3 separate regions of the Homo sapiens genome follow, and regions 1 and 2 are each linked to region 3. The links are contacts of gene promoters, found by promoter capture Hi-C in human tissues and cell types (Jung and others, 2019). All regions are on one chromosome and are shown on one strand. The core of a region is centred on a gene start or on the middle of the fragment in contact, and the rest is flanking DNA. Distances in the headings are between cores, read along the strand shown. Region 1 holds the start of PSMC3 (proteasome 26S subunit, ATPase 3). Region 2 holds the start of SPI1 (Spi-1 proto-oncogene). Region 3 overlaps LRP4 (LDL receptor related protein 4).

Region 1 (4,344 bases), core at 879-3,378, 570 kb after region 3:
AGAATCCCAGACTCTCGGAGCTGTTCTGCCAAGATTCAGAGCCAACAGTGACCTGGGGCGGGTACAGGGGCTCAGCTAGTCACCAGAAAAGCACTGCCTGGGCTCAGGCCCCACTCACCACCAGGTCTCCTGGCTTTAGCTTTTCAGCATCCACCAACCCAATCACAGGAAGGAAGTACGTCTGTGGACAAGTTACAGGGGCAGTCTCAGTTAGTGTCCTCAGGGAAGGCTCCCTAGTCCTGTCCCACATCCGCTCCTCACCCTCCTCCAGTCTCTCATTGCTGAGCCACGCTCACCTGTCGTGTAGAGGTTTTGATCACAGCACACTTGCCCTTCCTCTGGGAGTCCAGGTCAATATTGGCACCATCCTCCTCTTGGTCATTAGGATCAACATCCAGGAGCTGGGAAGGAAAAAATACTCAGCTCCTTGAACTCCCCAAGGCCCAGTGCTTCCTAAGACAGTTCCTAATACCTGCAGGGCTGGCCATCCTTACCTCCCTCCTCCAATAGCCCTGAGCCCACCAAACGTGGGTGCCCCTGCTAAGCCCAGGGATTGATCTCTGTGTAGGTGCTGCTCCTCTGCACAGGGCTCATCTACCCCGGAGGAGACATAACCAACAGAAAAGGAGACACGTGAGACCTCCCAGGACTTTGCAGGCCCCGTCTTCCCCATGAAAGTGCCCCAGGAGGTGTAGCTCTGACATGCAGTTTGGCCTCAATACCTCCACCCACTCTTTCCCTAGTGGCCCCACCCCAGGCTGTCCCCATTCCCTGCTGACTCCCTCTCTTCCCCTCCACATACACACACACCTCGATGACGTTGGAGACAAGGTACGGCAGGGTCTTGTTCACTTTGATTTTCTCACTGTTCTCTTTTATCTTGTCCTTCATGGCTTGGAGCTCATGGGTGACTCTCAACACTTCACTCTTCATGATCTGAGATCAGGAGGGGAGGAGAAGCAAATATAAACCCTGGCACAGCTTATGCTAGAGCCCTGTAACTAGTGAGGTCCAGGGTGCCCAGGGGACCCTCCCGCATCCATTCATCCAGCTCTGAGGCTCTCTGAAGGCAGAGTCTGACTGTGTCCACATCCTGCAGAAGTCAAAAGAGGAGGCCAGTTTGGAAACCTCCTGGTGAAATAGTGGTAGTATTGGAATAAAAGCAGGCCTCCGAGAGAGGCAAACATAGGTTTTAGGTTCTGCCTCATAGTAAGAACTGGGTGCTTTATCGCAGTACAAACCTCTCTGGGCCTGTCTCCTCATCTGTAAAATAGGCATTTTACTAAAAGAAGGATTCTTGAGAGGATTATTCCCAGTTCTCACTGGGAAAGGCAATCTGATAACTTCTCATCTCAGCCCAGGCCTCCCACCACCCCCTACCTGTCTTCTTGTCCCTTTTAAGGCTTAGTTTTCTTTCCTCTCTTCCTGATATGAGGGGGAAGCCCGAGCCCCATGTCTCCCCCAGGGTGCCCGATTAGGAAGTACGAGAGGCGACTCGGATCGCCGGGGCCTGTCCTGTGGGGGCTCCATCGCCCGCACAGGAGCTGTGCGCCCACCTTGATCTCACTGTCCAGCAGCCGTGTGCGCTGGATGATCTCCTCCGTGGACATCTTGAGCACCTCCTCCCCAATTCCATCTTGCTGTAAAAAATTATTTGTTTATTTATATATTTACTTTTACTCAGGACAAGCATCCCTCGTTCTCCGAACCCACTCACAGCCTCAGTTTCCACGCCCATAAAACCAGGATGGAGTCAGGACCCCTGCCCACATCCCAAACAACCCCGTCCCCGGGATCGGGCCAGACCTTGACCCCCAGCCACCTCCTTCCCTCTTGTCAATGGCGTCTCCCTGCGGGCCCCGGTTCCCGGACCGCCAGCTCGCCCGGTGCCCACCTCGGCCTCATCCCACACGGTCGCCATCTTCTCCTGCCGAGTCACTGGACTCTCAATATTCGGCAGCAGATTCATTTCCTGGAGGAGCGGGCAGAAGATGGGACCAGGCGGGAGCCGCAACGGGAGATTAATACCGTCTTTCTTAAAGCCTTCTCTTGACCAGTGGAAAACCTCTCCCCACAAATCCCGACTCTTGACCCGACCAGCTCCGGCCGTGCTGCGGAGCAGCGAATCTGCCTCTCCGATTCCAAAGACCAACCCCTGGCCACAGGCCCCGCCCCCGCGGACCCCGAAACGTTCCCGCCCGCGTCCTATTTTTGCCGGGCGCGAGAGGTGGGGCCGCTATTGGCCGACACGCGCGTTGGGGGCGGGGCCTATGTGTAAAACCGGAAAGGGAGGGAGAAGGGTGGGATCCGCGAGGGCCTTTGGGAAATGTAGTCTTTAATCTGGCCCGTGACAGATGCTTGCGGAGGGGCGCGTTCAAACTCAGACCGTGACCCCGCTAGGAATAAGGGGATTTACACAATGACACTGCCTCCCAATTAATAAACGACATAGGCCAGCCGTGTGCAAAGGGCCAAAAAGGCATGCCACCTCAGTCCGCATTTTTACAATTATTTAAGTACAAGCTGGCCACCCGGAGTTACGGGAGGGAATCATTAACCAGCTTTAAAGAGAAATCGCTGCTGCTCCTAACGTCAGAGCAGGCTTCACGGAATTGTCCACGTGGGAAGAACTCAATTGACCATCAGCCTCTACGATTAAAAACATTATGACTCGGGCCGGGCGCGGTGGCTCACGCCTGTAATCCCAGCACTTTGGGAGGCCGAGGCGGGCGGATCACGAGGTCAGGAGATCGAGACCATCCTGGCTAACACGGTGAAACCCCGTCTCTACTAAATATACAAAAAATTAGCCGGGCGTGGTGGTGGGCGCCCGTAGTCCCAGCTACTCCGGGCTGAGCCAGGAGAATGGCATGAACCTCGGAGGCGGAGCTTGCAGTGAGCCGTGATCGCGCCACTGCACTCCAGCCTGGGCGACAGAGCGAGACTCCGTCTCAAAAAAAATTATGTCTCGTATCTGCAATTGTTTGTTTTCTCTGACCATGGTTAGTAATCTCAGTGAGCAGAGCGGGTCTCCGGATCATGGGAGACTCATTCGTTGTACCCTTGTCGGCTATTTTAAATGATCTCTCCTTATCCTTTGAGGTGAGCCCTGGAGCCCCTTTAAAGGGAACTTCATGTAAGCAACATAGCTTATATTTCAAGTCAAACCATCACAAACACTCTGTTAACCTGATGAAAATCTGTGCAATCGTTGCCTTTTTTTTGTTTGCTTGTTTGTTTTTTGTTTTTTGAGACGGAGTCTCGCTCTGTCGCCCAGGCTGGAATGCAGTGGCGCGGTCTCTCCCTACCGCAACCTCCGCCTCCCGGGTTCAATGGATTCTCCTGCCTCAGCCTCTCAAGTAGCTGGGATTACAGGCACCCACCACCACGCCCAACTAATTTTTGTATTTTTAGTAGAGACAAGGTTTCACCATGTTGACCAGGCTGGTCTCAAACTCCTGGGCGTAAGTGATCTTCCTGCCTCAGCCTCCTAAAGTGTTGGTACTATAGGCATGAACCACTACACCTAGCCTTTGCAGTAGTTTTTTTTGGAACACGGTTGAAAGCAGAATTTTTTTCTTTAAATAACAACATGTACAGCTGCTCACTCAGGCTGACAAAGCGTCTCCTCAAGTAACAGTGCTTTATTCCATTCTCTCAACAAGCCTGCCTTGTGGACAGACTGAATTACCATTCTCAAATTTAAATAAGCATAGGGAGGCTCAGAGAGGTTAAGTGCCTTGCTGGAGGTTATTCAGTGAGTCACTGGCAGCACTAGGACTGCTGACCCCAAATTCTCACTTTGAGTTGCCCGATAGGAGCCAAGAAGCCCAGAGGGGAAAGACTGTCCAATCTGTGCTGGTCCCACTATGCCTGGGTCAGTTGGGTCCCATTCTGGGGCCTACTTTTGGAGATCCTGACAAATACGAATATGTTTAGAAAGCCTCCAGCCTGGGCCTAGGAGGGATGCAGACATTCTCCCCTTAACCAACTTTTAGGTAGGCTCTTCTGAGCCATCTTTTTTTTTTTTTTTTTTTTTTTGAGACGGAGTTTCGCTCTGTCGCCCAGGCTGGAGTGCAGTGGCGGGATCTCGGCTCACTGCAAGCTCCGCCTCCCGGGTTCACGCCATTCTCCTGCCTCAGCCTCCCAAGTAGCTGGGACTACAGGCGCCCGCCACTACGCCCGGCTAATTTTTTGTATTTTTAGTAGAGACGGGGTTTCACCGTTTTAGCCGGGATGGCCTCGATCTCCTGACCTCGTGATCCGCCCGCCTCGGCCTCCCAAAGTGCTGGGACTACAGGCATGAGCCACCGCGCCCGGCCTGAGCCATCTTTTTTTGACTAG
Region 2 (4,085 bases), core at 1,527-4,026, 520 kb after region 3:
GACCCCAGCCAGGCCTGCAGCACCCCCGCACGCTGGGTCCCCATCACCTTCCCTGGCTCAGTGGCTGCGTTGGACCTACAGCCCTCCCTCTGCCTGGAACTGGGACAGAGAGTGGGGCAGGGGACCCAGAAGGCCTGAAAAGGGGTGACAGGGACCTTGGGGGTGAGAGGTCAGAAGAGGACCAGGGTCCCCCTCTGCTGGGCTACTCCCCATAGCCACCTCACGCTCACACTCACACTCACGCCTGTGTGCCCCCATCCTCATCCCACACACCTCTCCTGGTCACACTGATGCACATGTCCACACGATCCCTGTGTCACCCTCACACTCATAATCCCACACGAGGACTCACTCTCACAGCCCCTACCCACCCCCATGCAGGCGCCTGCACACTATCCCTCACACACACATCTTCATACCCACTCAGAGGTCACCCACCTCACAGAGACATTGTACACTCAGCTCATGCACACACGCAGAGTCTCCTTGATTGACACTCACATGACACCACGTTCCAGCCATCAACACACACACTCACACCCCCAGAGCCACTCACATTCCACCTGCACACTCAACCGCACAGCACACACTTGCCTGCCCAGCCCCACTCTCACAGCCTATGCCTCTCACACAGCCTGGGCAAGAGTGGCACCACAATGACCCTCCACACTGACGGTTGGTGCAGGGGTCACCCAGGCAGACTTAGGGGCCGAGCGCATGGAGGGCCTTGATCCCCTCACTCTCCCTCCTGAGTCCTCCCTATCCTCCTCCTTCCCTCCTCACTGCATCCCCCTCCCCGTCTCCTTTGCTTCCTCCTCCCCCTCCTCACTCCCCTCTGTCCTCCTTTTCTTCCCCCTCTTCCCTGTCCTCCTTCTTTCCTCCCACCTTCCTCCCTCCTCCCTGTCCTCCTCCCCCTACTGGCACAGACACAGGGCCGTGCACACCCAGGAGCCTTCCCAACAGTCATCAGGCCTCCCCGCCCCCGCAGCGTGTGGCCCAGGATTGCATAACAGTCACTGTGGCCCTTAGGGCTGGGCTTGGGGGACCGGGGCTGCCTTGGGAGCCCACCCTACCAGGAGACACTCAGAGTGACCCTGGAGCTTGCAGAGAGGGCTGGGGGTGCCTAGGGATGGCCCAAGGAGCTCTGCCACCCATCTAGCTCCACCTGGAGTTCAGAATTGAGAGGTCAGGGATCAGAGACAGTGGGCCTGTGGCTTTCTTGAGGCAGAATTGGCTCTTTCTGAGACAACCTCCGTCACCCTCTGCCTGGGCCGCCCACTTCGTGTTCCCAGGTGGGAAGGGGTGTCGGTGTGGATGCCACAGCAGGCTGGCTGGTCCTGCCTGGTCCTGCCTGTGGCTGGCCAAGTGAGGAGGCCAGGAGCCCAGCACTGAGCCTGCCCCTCTGGGTTTCCAGGTAGTACAGCCTCGCTGCAGGATGTCAGCCCGGCTCTGGTCGGGTTGGTGTGATGTCAGGCCTGGGGTGCCTCCCAGCCTCCTGGGGTGGCTCTGAGCCAGGGCATAGTGGGGGAAGGGAGCTGCCTCTAGACCAGGAAAGTGGATTCAGGTGGGCAGCCTGCCAAGCCCTTCCCGGCTCCCCTCAAGCCTCCTCACTCCTGAGAGGTCATGGGGTGGGAAAAGGGAGAAGGGTCCTTTCCGAGGGACCCTGGTCTGACACCTGCCTAAGGCTGCAACTGTCACTGAGAGTGAGGAGCAGTGGCGATCTGCCCTTCTCTTCTCGGGGTCCCCTGGGGCTCCCACTTCTTCACCCCCAAGACCCAGTCCCTGTCCTTGTCCCAGCCTCAGCCCCCATTCTCACTTATCACATGCTCACCCCAGGTCCCACCCAGCCCCAATCTCAGTCCTGGCCTTGTCCCAGCCCTGTCCCCTGCCGCGCCTCTCCCTGAACTCCAGCCCTGGGGCCAGCCCTAACTGCACTGTCTCAGCTCCACTCCTGGCTCCTTTCCAGCACCAGTCCCTGTCTCCTGTGGGTACCCCTGTGGGCCCATGGCCCTGACCCTTTGGTCAACAATCATGTCCTCTGTGCCAGGCCCCAGACTGGGCGTTGGGGACCCAGAGTTCCATCAGCTTTGGTTTCCAGGAGCCCCAAGGCCATGGGCCAAGACTTCTGCCCATTGCCTCCTGCCTTCAACCCCTTCCCATCCAGGGGACCGGCCTCCCCCAAGCCAGTCCCCCCATCTCCCTCCTCTACCTCTCTACCACCGCCTTCACCATCCTCAGCCCAGCACCCTCCCCAGGAGCCCCGGCCTCCGCCTGCCACCCGAGCCCTGTCTATAAATAACTGTTCAGGCCCCACCGATCACAGCCCCACCGTGGGCCTGGCCTCAGCCCGCCAGGGCATGCTCCGAGGAAGCCAATGGCCCCCTCGCTGGGTCTCAGGCCAGGAGTTCCAGGGAGGAAACCCTGACTTCCCACTGATAGCAAGCCAGGAGGGCAGTGGGTGGGCTGGCGGGTTCGTGGGCAGGCAGGCAGGCGTCCGAGGGCCACGGGTTGGGCTGGTGGAGGAGTCCCGGTACTCACAGGGGGGACGAGGGGAAACCCTTCCATTTTGCACGCCTGTAACATCCAGCCGGGCTCCGAGTCGGTCAGATCCCCTGCCTCGGTGGGGGCCAATGCAGAGCCCCTCAGGATGGGGTGCCCCGTCAGGGGCTGGACGGTCGTGGGGCGGGTGCAGGGCTCAGGCCTGCCCCCTGAGCTACAGGAGCCCTGGGTGAGCCCCCTCCCTTGACATTGCAGGGCCAGCACAAGTTCCTGATTTTATCGAAGGGCCTGCCGCTGGGAGATAGTCCCCTTGGGGTGACATCACCGCCCCAACCCGTTTGCATAAATCTCTTGCGCTACATACAGGAAGTCTCTGGCCGGCTGGGGCAGGTGGTGCTCAAAGGGCTGGCCTGGGAAGCCATGGGGTCCAGGCCCCCTGCCCAGAGGAAGCTGGGACTGAGAGGGATGACTTTGGGGGCTAAGCTGGGGAGGGAGGATGGGAGGGAGAACGTGTAGCTCTGCCACACCACTGGGAGGCTTTTGCTCTAACCCAACAAATGCCTGCTTCTTTTGAGATCCCTATGTAGCCAACAGTCACCTCATTGGGGTCAGAGCTGGAAGGGGTGGCCTCTTGGGGCCTCCACTTTCTGGAGTCAGCCTTCCTGGGTGAGGGCTCTGATCTAGCAGGCTATCAGGCCTGGCTCTTCCTGTGGCCCTGCACCCCCACTGCCTAGGCTATCCCTAGGCTGAGGCTGGGCTCAGGTGTAGGGTCTTCAGCATAGTGCTGCTTTCTTCCTTCCCTCTGAATCTGTTCACATGGGCTTCCCTACCACCAGAAGAGGGTCCTGGGTTCTTATACCCTCCCCTCCCAGCTTCTTGATTACCACATTCAAATCCCTAGGGCTCTGTTTCCAGCCCAGGTTTCTCAGTTTCCCCATCCCTTGGCAATGCCTGAATATCAATCTAACCCTCCTGGTTTACAAACCTTTCTTGCCTATCCACCATTCATCTGTTTTCCCATGCATCTATTTGTCTGTCTATTTGTCCATCCAGCTATCCATTCATCAAGCCCACCATGCATTCACTTATGTGTCCATTTATCCAACTGTCCGTTTGTTTGTTCATTCATCTGTCAGTCAATTCATCCACCCACCCATCTGTTTATCTACTTGTCTATCTAACCATCTATATGTCCATTAATCAGCCCGTCCACCTGCTATCAGTCCATCAGTCCACAATTCCATCTGTTTATCCATCTATGAATCTGCTCATCCATTCATCCACCTGTCCATCCATCCACCCATCCACTCATCCACCCATCTACCCATCCACTCATCTGTCCATCAACCCATCCATCATCCACCTACCCCTTCATTCATTCATCCATCCATCCACCAGTCCACTCATCCACCCATCTACCAATCCACCCACCTACCATTCCACCCATCTATTCATCCACCTATCCATCCATTCACCTATCAGCTTCGGTTTCCAGGAGCCCCATGAGAACAGGCAGTATTTGACTTTCTGTTTCTGCGTTGTTTCGCATATGATAATGTCCTCCAATTCCATCCATGTTGCTGCAA
Region 3 (4,214 bases), core at 662-3,161:
GCCACTTCTAATTCCTGGGGGAGAAGAGGTCTGGGTCTGCCATGGGCTAGGAGGGCCTCATCAGTGGTGCTCTCTACCTTCCTACTCCTTACCCACCTCTTTGTATTTTTATTTATTCAGCCCTCCCACCACAGGACTTTGGAGATTGCTGGTGCCACAAGGCTTGGTCAGAAAAAGCAAATTAGGCAAAAAAACAAACAAAAAAACCCCACGAAGAACAGCTAGGGAGACGTTTTAGGGCAAAAATAAGTCTCAATTTCCCTGATACCAGGCTGAGACACGTGCCCTTTGTGTGAATGAGCATGAACCAAGTGATGGCATCCCACATGGAAACTAAGCCCCTTAGCTGAGGGGACAGCTGGAAGAGGAACATCACCACCCCGTAGCCACAGGCTTGCTGTCCACTAACTTAGATCCCTGAGCACTTGAGAAAGAACATAGGAAGTTCAACAGGAAGTTTGACCCTCATGGATACTTCTCTTTAGGCCCTGGGTTTCCCAAGTCTCCAACCTGATCGTTCTTTCTGACCATTTATGACAACTTCTGGTTTTTCTTTGAAAGCTTGTTTCTAGGTCTCTTCCCCAGAATCCCAGGACATGAGGGAGAGAGGGGTCAGGAGGTATACCATATTTGGTCTAGGCAGAGCTTCTTAGACTTTTCAGAGACTCAGCCCCCAAGGCCTAACATTCACTCAAGCCACTGGCTCACAACCTGGTTAATTTGAGCAAAGACTTAGGAAAGGTACTGGCCAGTGGTGGCACCAGGAGGGAATTCCTATTAGCCAGTAGCCTTGTGATAGGGGACCCAGTTATCTGAATGTAGAAACAGCTCCAGACATTCTAGGAGGAGGAAGAACAGCCTGAGCCACCCCCATCTCACCAGTATCTGCTGCTGAAAAGGCAGTGTCTCTTAGGGCAAGAATAATGTCCACTGCCAGCAATGGACCAGACACCCAGATCCAACTACCCCCCAAAGCTTTTTCATGTTACTAACACACTTGAGGCTGGAGGTTTCCCAGATGCCCATACCTGCTGGGCTGATTCTTCCTTCTTCTCTCAGCCTCTATCCTTCATCCCTGTCTTTACCCACACCCCCATGTCCCAGCCCCTGATGGGCAAGTTCTCTCAGAGAAGCAGTCATGCTGGCTGTGATGGGGCAGAGCGCAGTCCTGGGTCATCAGCTGCATCAGCACTGAGAAGCAGGCACTGAGGGTACTGGGGAAAGGGGAGGTGGAGCTCTACGCTGGTGAGGAATCACGAATAAGCAGTTTCAGGGGGCCCAGGATGGAGTACAAGATGTGAGGTTCATGGTAAAATCCAGGTCTAAATTCTCGTGATGTGCCATCATTTCTTGTGCACAGGTAGTTATGGACTCACGTGGTAAACAGCTCCGGTGAAGGCTTAGGAACAGTTATGGGGTGGGAGGAGGAGGAGGACAAGCACACAGAAGCGGGGCCTGCGGTGTAAGCGAGCACAAGGACTAGACGTCCATAAAGGAGAAGGAACAGGCAGGCAGGGAAGAGAATGTGGGCATTTAGACCTGGCTCTCTGAGGAGAGCTTGCGTTCATGTTTCCAGCCCGTGTCTGGCAGAGAGCCTCGTCTTTCTGGAGTGGCTGCAGTATGGACGCTGCTACACTCAGACTGCTCTTCCTGTAACAGCTGCTCCGTCTCTGTGTCATCCAGGGAGCCAGAGCTGGCCTGGATGGACACCGTGTCTGTCTTCATGCATACATGATCCCGGAGGAGGCCCCCCCGTGAGCTTCGCAGTTGCTTGAGGTCATCCCACTCAGCATCATCCCCAGACAGGAGGCAGATTCCCTCTACGATCTTGATCTTCTCCTTGGTGTAGTTATGGTCAGGCCCTCCCTAGGGTGGAGAGTGGGCAGATATGGTCAGTCAGTTGGCCTTCTACAAAGGATCCCATGGTAAACTGAAAAAGGAAGTGGATGGGGTAAGAGTAGGAGTGAAGCGCACAAAAATCCCACAAACAAATGGGGAAATGTGATTAAGACAAGTGTATGAGGCCTAGCCTAAAAGGGGAGAGGCAGCTGTGATAATTATTACCATTACCATACAGGAGGAGGGAAAACCATGGCTTCCGGTCCTGCAGCAGCCACTCACTGGCTTTGTCACCTTAGGCAAATTATTTCACATTTCTAAAACTCAGTCTCTTAAGACTCTGCAGTGTGAGGAGAGTAACAGTATCCACACCTCACAACCAACTGCTGTCACCTTAAATGAGATGATACATGGAATGCAGTTATCAGGGAGCTTGACACAAGATGCACTATAACATGTTAGCTATGTTACATTGTTACTGTGGTTTATTAATGGGACATCATGCTGATATAAATCATCAAAAGCAATTGGCAAGAGCAATTAAATGTACATTTATTCAGGATTTTAAGCTACTTCGGGTGCTAGTTTGTATCTCTTTTTTCTAATTTTGTTAAGGAGAAAACTTGGGAGGTAAGACAGGGGACTCTAGAAAATCCTCTTATCTGGCCGGGCGTGGTGGCTTACACCTGTAATCCCAGCACTTTGGGAGGCCCAGGCGGGCAGATCACTTGAGTTCAGGAGTTCGAGACTAGCCTGGCCAACATGGTGAAACCCCATCTCTACTAAAAATACAAAAATCAGCTGGGTTTGGTGGCGGGTGCCTGTAATCCCAGCTATTTGGGAGGCTGAGGCAGGAGAATCCCTTGAACTCCGGAGGCTGAGGTTACAGTGAGCCAAGATCATGCCACTGCACTCCAGCCTGGGTGACAGAGCAAGATTCCATTAAAAAAAAAAAAAGAAAGAAAGAAAGAAAAAAAACTAAAAAAAAGGAAATCTTCTTATCTGGGTCCTAAACGTCAATATAGTGGGGTCCTGCAACTTATAACCTTTTTTGGGAGGTTACTCTCGCTCTGCTGCCATGAGTCCTGGGACCATTCCCAAGCAAAACCTGGGACTCTTCCAGGCACAGCCTGGAGTTCTGCTCGGGCCTCTCCCTTTATGGCTTCTTCAAAGAGCAGCCTCACTCCTGGCTGCTGGGGTATACCAACCGACATACCACCACTGCTAGAAGAAAATGGATCATCTTGGGTTCTGTCCCTGGGATAGTATTCCTGCCAAGAGTTCTGCAACTGTGGCTGTGGCTCTATTTTTGTAACAATTCAATTCCACAGATATTTACTGAGCCCCTATGTTAAGCAGAAGACTGTGCTAGGTGCTTTGATGATTATACAATATAAAACATGGTCCCTGCCCTCTGAGAGTGACAGTCCCCTCAGCCATGCAGAGTGGGACATAGCACACAAGCAAACACACAGATGTCTGTTCACCCAGCACACCCTCCAAGATGAAATTAGTATAAGATGCAGACCACTCAATGTCTTAATTAAGAGACACGCTGGGTAAGTTAGGGAGAGGTGGGGGATATGGCACTTGCAATTTGGGAAACACCACTCCCTCTACAAACACACAGCAACAGGTACCTGAAATCAAGAGGAAATCAGAAGAGAAAAGGTGAAAGACTATCAGAGGGGTGAAAGAGCTGCTGAGGAAGAAACACACAACAGAAGAAAGAGGTCACACTATTTTCATTGCTATCCTGTGGCCTTCATTGTGGTTCTTTTCTGGAGCATCAGATACTCCAGGAACCCAAGAATCTTCAAGAGTCTTTCTCTCAAAGATATTGGGGAGGGGTCTACCATTCCTAGAACTACAAGCCATCCCTGCACATTCTGTTTTGACTGCAGTAGAAGCTTTTAAAAAATTTTTAATTTCAATTTTTTTTTTCAAACACCAACTTGAACCAGAAGTAGTGGAAGCTATTTAAATACGGGAATTCATGGATCCAGAAAGCACATGATTATTATGTGAAATGTGTTTATTACACATGAGAGCCCTGCAGGTGTGAGAGCAGGTTCTGACTGTGCTAGATAGGCCAAAGAAGTAGACTGATGAGGATCTTCATAAGGAATAACTTCTGATGAAGAGTTACAGGATTTTAGGAAAAAAACAAGGCTTATATTGGATTAGGAAAATCTGAAATACCAGGTATAGTTAGTTTCCTTGTGGAAATGGGACTTTTTTTTTTTTTTTTTTTTTTGAGACAGGGTCTCATTGTCACCCAGGCTGGAGGGTAGTGGCATGATCACAGCTCACTGCAGCCTCCAACTCCTGAGCTCAAGTGATCCTCCTACCTCAGCCTCCTGTGTAGCTGGGAC

What was found. Contacts are between HindIII fragments. The study calls those that stand out against the background at their distance.
Region 1: a contact is called between the fragment with the promoter of PSMC3 here and a fragment that was not itself captured in region 3, in 1 of the 25 tissues and cell types used here (stomach).
Region 2: the fragment with the promoter of SPI1 here is called in contact with a fragment that was not itself captured in region 3 in 1 of the 25 tissues and cell types used here (dorsolateral prefrontal cortex).

The regions. Positions count from the first base shown.
Region 1 is chr11:47,424,311-47,428,654 of GRCh38, forward strand. It overlaps PSMC3 (proteasome 26S subunit, ATPase 3), which reads right to left and starts at 2,129. Exons shown (of 12, transcript NM_002804.5): 1 at 1,895-2,129; 2 at 1,557-1,640; 3 at 811-936; 4 at 297-401; 5 at 119-181. The coding sequence starts at 1,969. RefSeq lists silencers at 1,756-1,967, 2,238-2,367 and an enhancer at 1,938-2,137. The HindIII fragment of the contact is 16,812 bases long and covers 1-4,344 here.
Region 2 is chr11:47,375,771-47,379,855 of GRCh38, forward strand. It overlaps SPI1 (Spi-1 proto-oncogene), which reads right to left and starts at 2,777. Exons shown (of 5, transcript NM_003120.3): 1 at 2,539-2,777. The coding sequence starts at 2,583. RefSeq lists enhancers at 1,331-1,530, 2,201-2,250, 2,424-3,375, 2,871-2,940. The HindIII fragment of the contact is 21,953 bases long and covers 1-4,085 here.
Region 3 is chr11:46,857,450-46,861,663 of GRCh38, forward strand. LRP4 (LDL receptor related protein 4) reads right to left here. Exons shown (of 38, transcript NM_002334.4): 38 at 1-1,866. The coding sequence ends at 1,534. The region is part of intron 2 of LRP4-AS1 (LRP4 antisense RNA 1); the gene reads left to right. Among named protein-coding and RNA genes, the nearest start is that of LRP4-AS1, 13 kb to the left of the region's middle. The HindIII fragment of the contact is 4,802 bases long and covers 1-4,214 here.